Linked DNA regions of Homo sapiens: region 1 is linked to region 2. The links are contacts of gene promoters, found by promoter capture Hi-C in human tissues and cell types (Jung and others, 2019). All regions are on one chromosome and are shown on one strand. Each heading gives the region's core, a stretch centred on a gene start or on the middle of the fragment in contact. The rest is flanking DNA. Distances are from core to core; before and after follow the strand shown.

Evidence for each region. The method cuts DNA at HindIII sites, captures the fragments that hold promoters and counts their contacts. A contact is called where the count stands out against the background at its distance.
Region 1: a fragment that was not itself captured here is called in contact with the fragment with the promoter of DOCK7 in region 2 in 6 of the 25 tissues and cell types used here (IMR-90 fibroblasts, bladder, heart right ventricle and 3 more).

Annotation. Positions count from the first base shown.
Region 1 is chr1:62,727,565-62,730,264 of GRCh38, forward strand. No RefSeq gene overlaps it. Among named protein-coding and RNA genes, the nearest start is that of DOCK7-DT, 40 kb to the left of the region's middle. The HindIII fragment of the contact is 3,222 bases long and covers 1-2,700 here.
Region 2 is chr1:62,687,004-62,689,703 of GRCh38, forward strand. It overlaps DOCK7 (dedicator of cytokinesis 7), which reads right to left and starts at 1,383. Exons shown (of 50, transcript NM_001367561.1): 1 at 1,224-1,383. The coding sequence starts at 1,261. It overlaps DOCK7-DT (DOCK7 divergent transcript), which reads left to right and starts at 1,479. Exons shown (of 2, transcript NR_185999.1): 1 at 1,479-1,649. RefSeq lists a silencer at 736-1,485 and an enhancer at 2,495-2,700. The HindIII fragment of the contact is 7,491 bases long and covers 1-2,700 here.

The DNA of each region.
Region 1 (2,700 bases), core at 134-2,633, 41 kb after region 2:
CATGAATCAGCTTGTTATTACCCTCCTCCTCTTCAAGTTTAGATCTGAATTTTCTCTAGATGGGAATATTTGTTCTCACTTATTCCCCTGCTTCCATTCTTCAAATTTTGTTATGTTGTCTCCTCTCCCTTTCTGTTGGTCATTTTTGGCTTATACCTTTTTTGAGGTCACATTACTGGGATTTCAGGAAGAACCAGTGGTGAAGGCACATTTTTAATCTACCATGCATAATAAGGTCCTTTATTTCTTGCCATTTTCATTCCTACTATAACAGTCATACTTCTCAAGGCAGCATAGATACCTCTGAGTTACAGGCAAAAGATCAAGTGCAAGAAAGTGATGTAGGACAGGCAAGCACCAAAGTGGAGCTTAGCCAGAGAGGGTTCTTGGCCTTGCCCAGAAAAGAATTCAAGGGTAATCCAGAGAAAGAAGAAAACAGCTTTGTTGAACAGTCAGTGTTACAGCTCGGTGACTGCTCCCGCAGAACAGGGCTTAGAGTAGCAGCTCGGGGTAGTTTTGCAGTCATATTTATACCCACTTTTAATTGTATGCAGATTAAGGGGCAGTTTATGCAGAAAAGGGGTAGTAACTGTTGAATGGTTAGGTACCATGGAAAGGGGTGATAACAACCCTGGTGTTGCCATGGCAACGGTAAATTGACATGGCACACTGGTGGGTGGGTCTGATTGAAAACTGCTTTCTCCTTGGCAACACCAGGGAGAAAGTGTGAAAAAGTGTCTTGGCTAGTCCTCAGTCTAGTCCAGTATCCAAGTCCCACCCCTAGAATCAAGTCCCGCCTCCTACCTTAAAAGTACAGAGGAGAAAAAGCACAAATATTAATATTTCAAGATATTATAACATTTCCAACAGTGCTGGAGCCAGCTCATACTGGCTCATAAGAATAGATGGCTTATATTCAGGAATTTTATGAGACAGTGGTTAACCATTATTAAAAATTAAATAAACAGAATATTTATTATAACATAATGAAATAAATTATATTAAAAACAGACAATACTCAAAACTTATCACTTCCTAATTATTGTAGTGAATCCTACTATTATCTATCTTCTTGAGGTTCTTTACATCTATCGTGTCTGTATCACAGAAATATTATATAATGGTGTTCCATATATTTATTTATAAATAAATAAATTAAATAAAACAAAACCAGGTATTATTCCGGCTGTCAAAAAACATTTGCCTCTAAACTTTCTTTTTTTTTTTTTGAGACAGAGTCTCGCTCTGTCACCTAGGCTGGAGTGCAGTGGCACGATCTCGGCTCACTGCAACCTCTGCCTCCCAGGTTCAAGCGATTCTCCTGCCTCAGCCTCCCCAGTAGCTGGGATCACAGGCGCATGCCATCACGCCCAGCTAATTTTTTGTATTTTTAGTAGAAATGGGGTTTCACCGTGTTAGCCAGGATGGCCTCCATCTCCTAACCTTGTGATCTGCCCGCCTTGGGCTCCCAAAGTGCTGGGATTACAGGTGTAAGCCACTGCGCCCAGCCTGCCTCTAAACTTTCAACCTATGCATGCCAAGGTTCAAAACCCTTCTGAAACAATTGATTATTGTTCTACATCCTTCACTAAACCCTTCCACACCACATCCATCCGAGCTGGGCTTAATGCCCCTCCTACACATTCTTAGCATATCATTCCTACCTACCACCTTTGTGTTAAAATGATCTGCTTATCGGCTTCTCTTTGGCTAAAGCTAAACTGTAAGCTTCTGTATGGAAAGCCTCCACAAACCCCAGATGAGACTGAATTTCCCTATTATAATTGTCCACAATTCCCTATAGTTTGGCTTTATAATACTTATGCGTGTGATTATATTTGTAACAGGAATAGCAATTAACGCTCTCTAGTCTTACATACCCATTAAGGCTGAGGCTTTCTTTCACACCCCTCAGTTTCCTCACAGCATTCCTTTTATTTTCAAAAGATTGCTTGAAAAAAAATGTTGAATGTTTCTTCCTCTTTTATTTAAAACAATAGTTTATATTTGTACAGAGTTTTTAAAGTTACATAATTCTATGAAGCTTATAATGAAAAAAGCAGTACACTGTTTCTCCTTTTCTACCCCCAATCCCCAGTACTCAAAGGCAACATTTAAAAGATTTTATTAGTTGTTTCTTCTCATACTTGCCTCTGTCTTCCTAAATAACATTCTTGTATTGCTGCTATTTGGAGATTGTTCAGTTTCATATATTTTGGCTTCCTGCTATGGAAGATGAAGATTAAGCTCTCTTATAATGCTCCCAACACCACACCCCATCACAAACACATTCACATACATTCTTTTCCTCCTCCATTTCTCCCTATATAATTACATCATTGCACAACTTTTGGTTAATTCAACATGACCATACATTGTACAATGACTACATTTCCTCTTTTATACAATATGTTTTGGTTTTCCCGGAATTAATAATTGCCTATATTGTTTGCTTACTTTTCTATGTACCTATAACTAATTCATCCTCAAACATTCCTCGAGAATTATAAATTTCCTTTCATAATGTTAAAATACATTGGTTGTTTCTTATTTTCATTCATTTTGTGACAACATCCTTCTTGGAGGTCTCTGTTAACCCTGCCCCCAACGTGAACAGATTGCTTTCTAGAAATGTTTTGCAGGTGTCACTCTAGGATCTCCTGCATGCTCCTCCTGAGGAGTCAGTTCTCCTGCTTCTGT
Region 2 (2,700 bases), core at 133-2,632:
TCCTGGCCTCAAGCGATCCTCCTGCCTCGGCCTCCCAAACTGCTGGGATTACAGGCCTGAGCCACTGCATCCGGCCCAAAATTTTTAAAGAAATGTCAGCAAACTAAAAAGACTCAGAGCCACAGAACTACAACTGCCCCAAAACAAAAAAAGGTAATTTAATATGAATGCTTCTTTTCTTGGGACATCATAATTCACACAAATATGATTTTATTAAAACAAAAATGTCTACTGTCTCATACATAAGTATACTCCACAAAGAAATTCTACAAATATTAGAGTCCTCTGTCATTTAATTTTTATTTGGCGGGTGGGAGAAAGGTGGCAACCAACCACCACAAGTAGGTGAAAGGCTTTGAAACCTCCACCTCAATCACTTGCTTTACTTCAAGACTGCAATCACTTGCTTTACTTCAAGACTGCTAACATATAAAAGGATGTCAGTGTATAAAGAACACTGCCTATCATCCATCTTCTCGGGTGCTCTGAGAAACACAGGCGCACAGTTAAATTCACAGGCGAACTCAGAACAAGCTTCAGCCTGCAATCCGTCAGGGATTCGGCAGCTGCACACCGAAGGTGCAGCCCGCAGCTCTCAACTTTTCATTCTGTCCACACGTTTTCAATCCTGGACGCACAAGTCCACTTTGAACCTGGCCCGAGGGTGCAAAGAGGGTTCCTGTCAGATTTCTCAGGAAGAGAGAGACGCGTGAAGGAGGGGCGGCCTCCCACCCGCCCCGAGCCGCCGCGCGTTTCTCCTTTTGTTGGGGTGGAGGAGGGCGGACCCCGCACCCTCTAGGGGCCAAGAGGGGTGGGCGGAGAGACGGGAGGGGGCGAAACGCCGCGGCGGCCCCCGACGAGCCCGGGGGTGGGAACACAAAGAATTTGGGAAGCGGCCGACCGCCCTTCCATAAACCTCCGCAGAAGTCCAGGCCCGGGCCGCCGAGGAGCAGGAGGAGGCGGGCGCGCTGGAGTCCGCGGCCCTCTCCGCTCCCTGCCGAGGCTCAGCGGCGGGCGCGGGCTGAAGGCCGGGGTTCGAGGGCGGCGCGAGGCCTCCGCTACCCCCTCAGCCACCCCGAACCCCTTCCGCCCCGCCGCGAGCCAGGCCGCGGGATCCCGGTGCCGGCCCCGCCACACCCACCCGCCTCCTAGGCCAGGCCTGGGAGGACTCCGCGGCTCTTTCTCGGGCGGCGGCGGCGGCGCGCCCCACGCCGGATATTTACCTGCTGATCTTCTGGGCGAAGGCGCGGCGCTCGGCCATGGCTGCTGCGGCGACGGCGACGGCGGCGGCGGCTGCGGCGGGCCGGGTGCGGACCGGCGGGCGCGTGCCTCCTCGCTCGTGCTCCCTCCCTCGCGGCCTCCGCCAGTCCGGGCTCCGGACCTGGGAGGCTGGGGCTGGCGGCCGGAGCCAGGAACGAGCCCTGCCGTAATGTTCCTTAGAGGCGCGCAACGAGAAACCGCTCCTCCCCCAGCGCGTCAATCCCGGCGGGAACCCCGGCTGCGGAAGGCGGCTGCGGCCGGCGGGAGCCGAGGGGAAGAATGGAGCGCTGAGGAAGCGAGGCGCCAGCCCCAGCCGCTTCGCTGCCGCGGAGCCTGCACGACCGAGAGGTCGCGGAGAGAAGCCAGAGACAGGCCAGCGACCTGGCGAGGCAAGAAAATAAGATAACCGAACGCGTAGGGGGAGCTTGGCTTTCCCGAAATGGAAGGGAAGGAAATGAAAGGTGGGCTTTGCCGAGGGGGCTGTGCTTTAACCAAAGCCCTGGATGACTGGGTTCATGTTTCTGCAGCACCGGTCTCCGAGCTTTTTAAAGCACTTGGGTTTCTGCTTCGGCCTCATGAATGCAGCCTAACTGGAGAAACAGTGGTTTTTCTTATAGAGAAAGAGCCAGAAAATACCTTGCTCCTGCAGCGATAACAATAGTAATAGTTGACTTCTGGTGCTTAGCCAGCCACTGGATTAAAGTTTTTCAAGCACGAGCGCTTTGAAGTAGATCGTTACTATCACTATTTTAGAGGGAAGGAAATTGGCTTGGAAAAGCTAAGTGACTGGCCCCAGGTCGCACAGATGGTAAACTCTTCCACTGAGACTCAAACCCAGAGCCGGTTCTTTTCTTTGAGGACAGTTGTTTCCGTATTATTAACCCCTTTTGGATCTCTCTCTGTCTCTCATACATACATATATATATATATATATATATATATATATATATATATATATATATATATAAAATCCAGGTGAGCTCTAACGTTCACCCCCATTTTGATGTTCTGTTAAATAAGCTCTGTGTTGACCACTGAAACTGACCTTGTCCATAATAGCCTATAAAACAGAGACTAGCAGAGATTTGTTTTCATCTGTTCTGTTGTAATCCCATAATGTCTAGAATATTTGGCTCCTAATGCATATCTGTTGATACTGAAATTATGGTGACACTAAGAAAAATATCTTGGTTTCTTGTAGTACCTTTCCTCTTAAGTATTGCAAGAACTTAAAATGTGTATTTATTTATTGTTATTATTATATTCTCAGTATGTCCTGGTGGAATATGTTGGATACCTGTTTTCCTCTCTTTTACCATTGGAAAATCTGTAGCTTGGAGCCATTAGGTCACTTGCCAGAGTCACACACTGAGTCAGAGGTGAAAGCCTCAATTAGTCAGATCCATAACTTCCTGTCTAGTGCTGTAACTTCTGTGGAAG